Regions from separate parts of the Homo sapiens genome. Here region 1 is linked to region 2. The links are contacts of gene promoters, found by promoter capture Hi-C in blood cells and fetal thymus (Javierre and others, 2016). All regions are on one chromosome and are shown on one strand. Each heading gives the region's core, a stretch centred on a gene start or on the middle of the fragment in contact. The rest is flanking DNA. Distances are from core to core; before and after follow the strand shown. Region 1 overlaps PLCB1 (phospholipase C beta 1). Region 2 holds the start of PLCB1 (phospholipase C beta 1).

The links. The method cuts DNA at HindIII sites, captures the fragments that hold promoters and counts their contacts. A CHiCAGO score of 5 or more calls a contact.
Region 1: a contact is called between a fragment that was not itself captured here and the fragment with the promoter of PLCB1 in region 2, in 1 of 17 cell types (M0 macrophages). The highest score is 5.2, in M0 macrophages.

The regions. Positions count from the first base shown.
Region 1 is chr20:8,388,611-8,394,375 of GRCh38, reverse strand. The region is part of intron 3 of PLCB1 (phospholipase C beta 1); the gene reads right to left. Among named protein-coding and RNA genes, the nearest start is that of PLCB1-IT1, 140 kb to the right of the region's middle. The HindIII fragment of the contact is 4,725 bases long and covers 1-4,219 here.
Region 2 is chr20:8,127,262-8,133,529 of GRCh38, reverse strand. PLCB1 (phospholipase C beta 1) reads right to left here and starts at 1,264. Exons shown (of 32, transcript NM_015192.4): 1 at 780-1,264. The coding sequence starts at 878. RefSeq lists a silencer at 1,039-1,178. The HindIII fragment of the contact is 1,963 bases long and covers 612-2,574 here.

The DNA.
Region 1 (5,765 bases), core at 608-3,107, 260 kb before region 2:
ACTATGACTATTAAAAGTTATTGCTCCCTAAGTAAGTTCTACCACTTTTAATCTAACCTCAATTCAAGGTTTACCTTGACTTAAAATCCTTCCACAAAGGCCAAGTAGTACCAATTTTATATAAGTCATAAGATGTGAAACCATAGAAAAATAGGCTCTAGAAATAGTTAAGAGTGGACAGAGAATCTCACTCTAGTGGTACACTAGGCATTAGGCTTGTCTAAATGCCAGCATAGATTCCAGGTGCTATGGGAATAAATGAAATTCTTGTGTTTTGAGTAATATGTGGGCAATGCTGATGGTTTTCTGTCATAAGGTCTCAAATTAAAAAAATTAATTAGGTGGGAAGAATGCAAATAGTAAACTTTAAAATTCAAAACATCATAATATAATACAAGACAAAATTCAACATTATATTAATATTATCAAGATATATGAAAAAGGCCTTTCTGGTTTAGATCACCTAAGAACCTGTTCTCTAAACATCTTTAATAGGATCTGCACTACTGTGAAGACAAGCATCACTCATAAACTGGTGTTCTAGTTTATTAAGTGTGGTTAACTTCATAATAAATGGCTTTTAGAACATTTATATTAATCCTATGAGATGCTTGTGACCAAGAGACCCATAGTTAAAGAAAAAAGAAAGAAGTGACACTAACCCATGTCCAACACATCAAAAGCTGTGAGAAATCCTGCAATAAAGGAACCCTTAGCATTTCCCAAACTTATTTGACCAGTCACCCAGGCCGGAGTGCAGTGGTGCAATCACAGTTCACTGCAGCCTTGAACTCTGGACTCAAGAAATCCTCCCGCCTCAGCCTATACTGAGTAGCTGGGAGTATAGGCAGGCATGCACCACTGCATCCACCTATATTTTTTTTAAGAGATAGGGCTTTGGGTCTCAAACTCCTGGCCTCAAGCAATCCTCCTGCTTCGGCCTTCCAAAGTGCTGGTATTACAGATGTGAGCCACCACACCTAGATGACATTTTTATAGCATCTATTAGTATTCCAAGGAACTCACTTGGAGAAACAGTGAGTTTTGGTTTTGATAAAGTATTCTATATACCTGAGGAAAAAAAAATACAATAACTGTTCACAGAGCTATGCCCATTCATGGCAGGCAGTGATGAGCAAATTCTTCTCTCAAGCCCTCTGTTCTTACCTGAAATCAGTAATTCTTGGGTATAAATATAAAAATCAAGCAGCATTTGAGTACAGAAGTACCAGGTGGCATAGAGAAAATGTATTAGGTGTGTGAGGAGAATTTTCTGATCTTTTAATCTCAGTGGTCTTGTCTCACCTTTAAACACCAACAAACATACTGTCTAATTAGTTAGGTTATTCCATCTTCTTGAAATCTCTATGGACATTAATTTCAGGAGTTCCGGAAAACTTTATTTCATCATTAACAAATATCTGTTAAGTGGCAAATATGTTACTATCTTAATTGCCACTTTTCACATAAGATAAATGCCATAGATAGGAATTCTTTCATCTACGAAAATACCTACTATGGGTCATGTATCACATCCAAAGGCAGTGATATAGGATTTCACTTTTTTATGGTACATTGAAGGAATTTAAGAATTTTCAGCCATTTCCCATTCAAAGAAGACAAAACACAAATTTCTCAGAATAAACTGGTATACATTCCTAAGTTCCTTCCACTCTACCCAACTTACTCACAAATTGATATTACTATATCACACATTATGGCTGGCAAATCCATTTGAGAGATGTATATCATTTAGTTCTCCCAATAGCTCCATGATGGATACAAATATTACCTTTAGTCCCCAGGGATCATCCTGCTTGTCTCTTTCATTTTTTATGAGGAAGGTGAGATTCCTAAAAGATGGTATGACTCTACCCAGGTTATTCCATCAGCTGCAGTACCCAAATTAAAAACTAGTATCTTAGTCTATGTGTGCTACTATAACAAACAGACCGGCCAATTTATAAGCAAAGATCTGTCAGGTGGGAAATATTTACAGAAATTTATTTTCCACAGATGTGAAGGCTGGGAGGCTCAAAATCAAGGCGTAGACAGGTTCCGTGTCTGGTGAGGGATGCTCTCTGTTTCAAGGTGGCATTTCGAATGCTGTGTCCTCAGATGGGCCAAGGAGGAAGGGCAAAAAAGACTGAACCTTGAGTGAAATCTCTTTTATAAGGACCTTAATCACATTCATGAGGGAGGAGTTCTCATTGCCTAATCACCTTCAAAAGGCCACAACTTTAAATACTATTGCATCGGCGATTAAGTTTCAACATGAATATTGGAGGGGACGCAAACTTTCAAACTATAGGAACTCGCTGCTCATAAACTGGACAGTGCCCAGTTTATTATGAGTCCTAAAGCTGAAAAGGAATTGTAATGATATACTCCATATTTTCAGAGAATATTCCCATTTCAAAATGTTTCTTTCGTTAAATTACATCCCAGTATTTTCCCCTGCTGGAACATGTATCAAATTACATGCCACATTAGTTTATGACCTAATCTCCAAAATTGAGGAAGTTCAAGTAATATATATATATGTGTGTGTATATATATATATATATATATATATATATATATATATATACACACACATATATATATATATACTTCATTATTTACCAGTCTCACAGAACATTAAGAAGAATACACTGAAAAGTGAACTTAAGGCCCATAGGGAAGTAAGTAGTATCAAACATTATGATTTATGTCTTGTTACCAGTTAAAATCCAACTAGCAAGACAAATCAATACAGCAAGTATTATCATTCACAGGGAAACCAATAAACCTTCCTGGGTTCTCTCAGCTAATAAGTGCACTGGAGTTTGAATCTGGGTCTCTCTGACCCCTAACCTTGTTATTCCATTTCAAAACAGTGCTTTGGATTTTGCTTCAATGACTTCATAGTGCAGAAAAAGATACCCGCATGTTCTTAACTGAAAGTAAATTGCTCTAAAATTATTTTGATGGTTGGAAAATCTATTTAACTGTTGGCAAATCTAGACAGTTTTCTAAATAAGAACTGTAAGTCTTAGTACAACAATATTGCTGTGATAGTTCTCTGGGGGTAGGTGTTTGGCTGCAAAGAGAAATATGCCTCAAGTTCATTTTTCTATAGCTAATACATAGAAGTTAGATTTTAATCAGTAGGTTTAAATGCCACAGCTACAAAAGTATAAATCTCTTATACATAGATTATAGTGACAATCTATATATATAAATATAGATTATAGTGACAATCTATATTAGTGCATGGAATTCTATGGTAAATAGGTAAATTATGCCTATTTAACTTGCTTTTTCCCACTACATCACATACATGTAAGTTATATATTTTATTTACTTAATAATGATGGCAAAATGCATTTAGACAAACAATGGATGTGACAATTGTGTTAGGTGCCTTACGTGCATTTTGTCATTTAGTCCTTACCGCAACTAGATGATATAAACATGGCGATTATTCCTGTAATTCAGATGAAGAAACTAAGTCTCAGAGACATGATATAACTTGCAGGATTATACAGCTTGTTATTGGTGTTGTGGCTTGGCTTTCTGACCCAAGAGCTTGTGACCTTAATAACTATACTCTTATAGGCACTTGCAATACACAAAGACACATACTGGGTGCCCTGGGGCATGCAGAAATTAGTGCTGATAATGCCAAATCAACATATTCTGTACTAAAGCCACTCTGCAAAAGCAATTGTGTATTTCTGAAATGATTCTGACTATGCAGTTTTATCCACATTGACCATTGTATTGATTATAAAGAAAAAAATCTACTTTTCTATATTAAACCAACAGCAAAATAATCATACACTGCTACTCCTTATAAAGAAGCAAATCCTAAGCTAGGCTTTGTAATGTAATGAGGGAACACTGTTAAGGGCTGACTTGTGTCCCCTCAACATTTATATGTTGAAGTATTAACCCCCAGTAATTTAGAAGGTAATAGTATTTAGCAATAGTGCTTTAAAGAGGTAATTAAGTTAAATGCATTCATGAGGGTGGGCCCTAATGCAATACAACTTGTTCCTTATTAGAAGAGGAAATTAGGAATAGAAACAGAGGGAGGACCACGTGAAGATGCGGGGAAGGCAGCCATCTGTAAGCCGAGGAGAAAGGCCTCCAAAGAAAATAACCCTGCTGGCACTTTTGTCTCAGACTTCCCGCTCCCAGAATTGTGAGAGAATAAACTTCTGTTGTTTAAGCTTTAAGCCACTTAGCCTGTGGTACTTTGCTGTGGTAACCAGAGAAGACTGATACAAGTACCGTGGTGTACTTCTCTACATTAAGTATAGTGGTCAAGTTTAAGGAAAACTTGACTGAAAAGTGGTCCTTTTGACAAGCATATTTTGTAGGAAAATTCTCAATGCTTTTCTGTGTAAAATCTCTATTTTCAAAAGAGAAATCATCCATTTAAGCTGGTACTCTTTTTACTTAGACGAATGGTTTTGAAACTTGGTTGAACACTGGAATCTCTTGGGAACTTTAAAGAAAATATCAGTGTTGGAGCCCCACAGCAGACATTTCAATTTAATTGATTGGGGTGTGGCCTGCACATCAGGATTTTAAAAGCTCCCCAAGTGCTTCTCATATCTCTATATTAGAACCCATGATTGAAAACCCTGGCTTAGAGAGCAGTTCACTATGTAGAATTAATTTAAGAATTTAATATCGGATATGTCCACAAGATGGCGCATTATTGCGTTTAAAAGAATTAAAATTGAGAAATGTTTCCCAAATGCAACTATGTACCATTGCATGTAGAACAAATTGGATTTACGTTGAAATTACACCAGACAGGGGCAATGATAAAAATGAGTCACAATCTTCTGAAAAGACCTGGGTTTCATTAACTCATGGTACTAATTCTGTCTTCAACAACAGGTCCACTCTGGGCCTCCGTGAGAATGTTCTTGGCTGCCAGGCCTTTCACCTACTATTACCCTTGAGCAGAACCGTGACCTTTCCCTTACCTTCTCTACAACCTCTCCAGGTCCTTTAGAACCCTTTGGCAATAAGGTAATAGGACAGATGCTGGCCATTATAAATGACATAGAATCTTGATTCAACCACACACATATGCAGTTCACTGTATTTTACAAATGGACACCATATATACTGAAAAATGTAGGCATTGCCTAAACATGCAGATTTAACTGTTGATAGGAGATACACCAACCTCTTCTCAAATTTGGGAAATTATACCACCCCAGAAAAGACTTAACATATCTGCGATTTTTTTTTAAAGTAAAAAGCTTTTAGCCATTAAAGAAAATATTCTACATTTTAATAGTAGCTTTAAAAATCTTATCTTGTGCACTATTGAATGGCCATGATGGTAAGGGGCAGGGAGAAAAGTCAGAAGAGTTTTAAATGCAAACATCTGCCAAGGGAACCATTCCTTAACCACCCCTGAACCCCTGCCAGCATCCTGATATTTCTGCTACCAAATCTCTGACTAGTTATATAAAGGTTTTTGTTTCCAAGGAAACCACTGACATCTATGGAATTTAATGAACATAAAAAAGGAACTATGCCATATAATTTACATCTAAAGATAAATGTGAATAGCTGTCAAAACCATCACACACACACATGCACGCACACACACAGATCATTCAATAAGTTGTTAGCCCTATTTTGCTCCATTTAGTAAAGATGTAAATAAAAACACATTTATAGTAACAAAATGACAAAACAAACCAAAAAACAAACCAAAAAAACTACTGAAGCATGTTAGGTAAATTAAGAAA
Region 2 (6,268 bases), core at 15-2,514:
AGGCTCTGCCCTACCTGGCAAACGGTGCAGGTAAATCGTGGGGCAAACTCTCAACCTGTCTATTTCAGGCAGAAGACTCCAATCAGCTCAGTTCTCAAAAGTCAGCCCTCCCCACTTGCCTGCAGGCCCATGAGCCCTCCAGGACCCCTCAAGGGCCCCCATTCTGTTCACGCCCTCCCCAGATGTGTCCCCGCAGCCCTTTTCAGGGACCCTCACTCCGGAGCCAGGCGCTGAAGTTTGGCATCAACGACCACCTGTTGGCTGGACCGTTGTGTCCTCCGCCGCCTTGGCTCCCACAAAAGCGCCAAGAGGGTTCGCAATCACTAAAGTGTTTTGAACTTCAGGTCCTTCCTTCTTGAAATCGGGCAAAAGAGGTAATAGGGGGTGCGTCCGCAGGCGGAGAGGGACGCGATTTGTTCACACCAGGCGCTTTCCAGTTGGTCCCAACTTCACACTCCCTACTTTCCGAACTCTCAGGACCTGTCACCAGGCAAAGCTTGCCCCTCCCTCTCCACTGGCCCAAAAGATGTAAGACCCTCAGGGGGCGCCTGCCAGACCCAGAAAGGATGGCAACTACTGAAGCCCGATGAAACAGGAGCGCGCGCAAAGCTTCTGCCCTTGGACATCCGCTTTGGCAGATGCCAACCTGTGCGCCCGAGGCTGCCCCTGCCCGCTCCCAGTGCGCCCATTGCATAACGCGCCCCTTGCCCCACCCCCACGACGCCCGCCCTGCCCGGTGCCCGAGCCAGCGCCCCGACTCGGGCCGCCCCAATACTTACATCATCCCACTTGACGAATTTGGTGCCCTTCTTGAGGCTGTCGGACACGCACACGGGCTTGAGTTGCAAGGCGTGCACTCCGGGTTGAGCCCCGGCCATCTGGGCTCATCTGGGCTCCGGGCGGCCCGGGCGAGCGCGGCAGGGACTGGGGACCGTGCGCGGGGCGCGGGGCGCGGGGCGCGGGCTCCTTTCTCTGCTCCGGAGGCGCTCGACTCTGCTCCCCGCCGGCCTCCCCGGCCTCCCGGCCTCCGCACCTCCCTCCGGCGCCGCTCAGCAGGCAGAGCGCGCGGGGGCGCAGCGCCCGGCCATGCCCCGGGCGGGACGCGAGGTCTGGAGCCCGCGGTGGATGAGGAGCCTCGGAAGGCGAAGAGAAGCCGAGCCGGTCAGCCGAGGCTGCCAGTCGCGGCGGATTCTGCTCCTCCGCCGCCGCCGCCTCAAAGCGCACCATTCAGCACATCCTCTATACACAGAGGGAGAGAGCGAGTGACACACGCCCGGCGCCCCCCCTAACCGCTCTTTTCCCTCCTCCCTCCTCCTCCCCCCCGCCCCCCTTCCCCGCCACCCTCGCTCGCTGGGTCCTTCCTTCCCCCCGCGGCTCCCAGCCCAACTTTGCACGCTGGGTCAGGCGCCAGGAAGCGGGGACGCAGCGGCACCTCCTGGCTCCCGAGCCCCATTGCAGCCAACGCCTGCCTCCCGCATTCGCTCTGAGCATGCCCCGTGCCCTGGTTGCAGAGGTGCTAGGGGTCCCCAGGAGCCTTACGCTCTTTGGGGTTTTCTTGGGAATTTGGGCTCGAGCTCCGGAGCGTCTTTGGATCCCAACTGGCTGGGAAAAGGGGCCCATCGGGAGGAACCAAAGAGGCAACCCCTGGCTTTTGGCTCTAGCTGGAGCTCTCCAGCGCCAGCCACAAACCAGCTTTTTGAAGAGAATTATCATTTATCAGCAGAGAAGAGCGCAGTTGAGAGGCTCTTTGAGGAAACCTGGCCGCGCCTGAGAGTTTGCAGCGCGCTGATCTTGAAACCCGGGCAAACGGTTACGTTGTGCTTTCGAGACAGAAAGCCCATCCTAAAGAAAGCAAAGGTTTTATTTTCCGAGGAAGAAAGAGGGTGCCCTCTCCCGCTCCTCTCCTTGAGTGTGTAGGATGTGTGGCGGGTGGGGGAGAGTCTTATTAATAGAAACTTGCTCATTTAGGAACATAGGTCCAGGAATGTTTGTCTTCACTCCTTCCACAAACATTTCTCAATTCAAGAAAGAAAGGGAGGGAGGGAGGGAAGAAGGGAAAGAGGAGGACCAGAATGGATAAAATTTTAAAGACTGGTAATACCAAATGCTTGAAAGGATGTGGAGCAACTGGAACTCTTTTTTTTTTTTTATTAAGGAGAGAGAGGAGAGGGAGAGAGAGAGTGAGTGAGTGTGAGAGAGAGAAAGAGAGAGAGAGAGAGACACACGCGGGAGGTGGGGGGGCGGAGAGAGAAATAGCTTGGAACTCTTGTTCATTGCTGGAGGGAATATAAAATAGTAAAACCACTTTGGAGAATAGTTTCTTATAAAGTAAGATATTTACTTATCATACAACCTAGAAATTCCACTCCTAAGTATTTGTCCAAAAGAAATGAAAACGTTCAAGTCTGCAGGGACTTGTAAAGTGATGTGAAGAACTTTCTTCTTAGTAGCCTGCAAATGTCAATCAACAGGTGAATGGATAAACAAACTGTGGTATGCCCAAATATTGGAATACTATTCCACAATAAAAATGAGTGGGCATGCAAGATCAGGGATGAATCGCGACTTTAAGCTTTGTAAAAGAAGCCGGACACGATAGACTGTATGCTGCCTGATTCCATGTGTAGGAATTGCAGAATAGGCAAGATATTCTATGTTGACAGAAAGCTTGCCTGTGGCCAGGGATAGGTAGAGATGGACAGGGAAGGGCTACGAGCACCTGATGAGCATGTCGGAAATGTTCTATATCGTGTGTGTGTTTATCAAAACTTGTAAGTTCTGTAAGTACGCCTAAATTGAGTGCAGTTTGTTTTAAATAAATTATATCTCAAAAAGGTTGATTTTTAAAAAGAAGAAAGAATACGAAGAGAGAAAAATGGAGAGAAACACTACATTCTCTTAATCCTTCATTCTCCCTGTTCTCTGCCCTCAGGACTCCAAGGCCCAATGCTTATGAACTCAGTCAAAAGATTACCAAAATCCAATACAGAAATTTGCTATTAAATATTTCAATGCATTTAAAATATACTTATTGGTAGCCAGCTGTATACTAGCCACTATTGTAATCACCATGGATAACCTGGTGAACAAGACCCATGACTCTTGCTGTCATTTGAGGGTCTTGCCTTGTGCTTGGAAGCCAATTGCTACAAAGAATTTCATGAAAAACTGACTGGTTTCATTTTGATCACATGTCCCTAAACTAAAACCTGAATGGTCCACAGTCCCTCTAGCCAGCAGCCTTGGCTTGCTAATTACCTCACAGAAGGTATCAGTCACCGTCTCAAGTCGATTTTCTCTACTTCAGAGTACTGCAATGAAACTCTGCTTCCAGGGCTCCAGAACTTCTCAATTGTCCTTACAACTGATCATACCAAATTGTTTTCCTTTCCTTTCCTTTCCTTTCCTTTCCTCCTTTCCTTTCCTTTCTTTTCCTTTTCTCCTTCTATCTCTTTGTTATTTACTGGAAAGATTATTGGCCAAATAGTTTTTACCTGTCACAGTGGCTTAGGAAGGCAAGACAGGGCTGCGCTCACTAGAAGAGGAGATTGGAGAGTTACAATGAGCTCTAAGCAAAATAAGAAGTAGATTGAGCCTCCTGTGGTAGTTTATTGCATCATAGCTCTCTGCTCCCTGCTCCTTTCTGCGTCCACACATTTTTCTTTGTGACCTTACAGTTTTTACTAGACACCCTGTTTATTTATCCATCCCATTGATGTTGGACAATGTGACTTGCTTTGGCCAATGGCATGTTTGAAGATGTGATATTAGCAAAGGCTCAAAATATGCTTTGAGGTTGGGCTTTCCCTCTTGGGTTTCTTATCATTTCCATGAGATAAACATGCCTCAGGGAGCCTCTGATCTAAGGAGACAATCAGGACAGACCTAAGCCCCATTTACAGCTTGGAAGCAAGTCCAGTAGAAACCATCCTAGATCTCCCAGACTCAGCCAACCTGCAGACTCATGAACATGACAATAAACGTTCATTGTTGAATGGCACTGAGTTGGGAGTCATTTGGTAACCACCATTATTGGCAATGGATAGTTGAGTATTTCATCTAGCATCCCTGATTCCTCCCAGCTGTTGCTGTGAACGTGGACGTAAAAAGGAGAGAACGCTGTAGAAATCTGAACAGGATTTGTCTTCAAGACAAACATGGGCTGCAAGAGTTTCTTCAGCCAGCAAAATGACGCAGTTTGTTAAAGGAGAACTACAGGATAAATACCTTCAACATGTAGCATGATGCTTGAAGCAGCATGGTTTAACTCCCTCATTTTCCACACCTTTTGTTCAGTATACAAGATAGAAATGTTTCTAAAGTGTGGAGTTTTTTTGTTTTTTTCCCATTCTTTTTTTTAAATTATTATTATTATACTTTAAGTTTTAGGGTACGTGTGCACAACGTTCAGGTTAGTTACATATGTATACACGTGCCATGTTGTTGTGCTGCACCCATTAACTCATCATTTAGCATTAGGTATATCTCCTAATGCTATCCCTCCCCCGTCCCCCCACCCCACAACAGTTCCCGGTGTGTGATGTTCCCCTTCCTGTGTCCAAGTGTGGAGATTTTTGCTATGCAAAGGGATCTGTAAGAAATCCAAAATTGTGTGAGCCAGGCCTGTGATCCGTCAAGTTCGGTGCTGTGTACTGTTTTTTGAAACAATAGGAAGGTCTGTTTTTTGTGAGAGCACAGAATTGCCCTCTGGGAATGTCAGCCTCAGGGAGCTGGCAAAGCTAACCTTTATTGAGCACTCACTGTGGGTCAGAGCACTAAGCTAAGCACTTCCCAGACACTAAAAAACATAACCCTTCCTATTCAACACCACTCTCCACCCTCTTTTTCTTGTAAGCAAACCCTGACTTAATTTGGGTGGTCGTCATGCTTAGGAAACATGGCCCCTCTCTCTTTCCAAGGAACAAACTATGATTGGCCTAAACTAATGTCAATAATTCCATTCCCCTTTGTCTGTAACTGGTTTAAGAGCTATATGAGGGGCTCAGTTCTGACTAATGTCTTCAGGGAAATTCTCTTTCTCTGTCTCATATTGTTATGTAAAGAGGACACTGACAAGAAAGATGCAAAGAAACCTGGTCCTTCATGAGCTTTTTAAACCCTTTAAATTTTCTTTAGACTTTTTAATGAGTGAGATAATAAATCTCTTTATTATTTAAGCTTTATTGTTACTCTCAGCTGATCTGGTAGATAATATTATTGTATGCTATTTTACTGATTTATATACTAAAGTTTGGAGGATGGATTAACCTCCTCCAGTTACAAAATTCGGAATTGAGATGGAGACCTAGGAAGTCTGACTTTAGAACCTAGACTCTTAACTACCATGGTAGATACTTCTACAACTTATAAGGCAGATATGAGTAGTTTCTCTCTCCTTTTAACCACAGTGTAATATAAATAGTCCTAATTTCCCTAGAAACTAGATTGTGGTATGTACTCCAGTCTCTTGTCAGCTCATAACTCACTTGAGGCCTGCCACAGTGGGAAGGACAGTGTTTTGATTTGAATAGACATATCTTTTAACAGCCAGTTCTACCAATTACTACGTACGTAACCGTGGGAAAGTCTCTTATCTCTTCTGAAATACAAGGTCCTAATATGTAAATGGAGAAATAATAATAATGTCAAAGCTTTTTATGTCACATACTCTTCTCAGGGTTTTACATTTTTAATGCATTCACTGTCATATTAACCCCTAGGAGCCGGGTTACTATTATCTCCACTTTATAGCTGGGTAATCTGAGTCAGAGAAGTGTTAAGTAGTTGTTCAACATTTTCCAGCTAGTAAGTGAGTGAACCAGAATTTAAACTAGGCAGTTTGACCCCAGAGCCTACATATTTAACCACCACAGTAAGCTGTCTTAAAGAGGTATTGCAAAGATTAAATGAAATCATATATCTAAGTCCCTGTCACAGCGGTAATCAATAGTAGTTAACACACATATGGTTATTCTGAAATTCTACTATATTCCCTTTCTATGCCCTAAATAACTCTTTTAGTCTTAAAAGACAGCATTCTAATTCTGTGGTCTGTGATTTAGTAAACTTCTTTTTGGCTGCATTGATTCTATAAACTTTAATCATATTCATTTTTGTCTCTAACCTTCTAGAACTGAAAAGCTCTTTTCCATCATGAATAAATGAGTTCTAATTGCATCTAAGAATCAGGGCTCCTTTAACTCACCTTTTTTGATATAAGAGAGATATGGAGAAAAACTACCCAGAACCAGCTTTATAATAACCACAT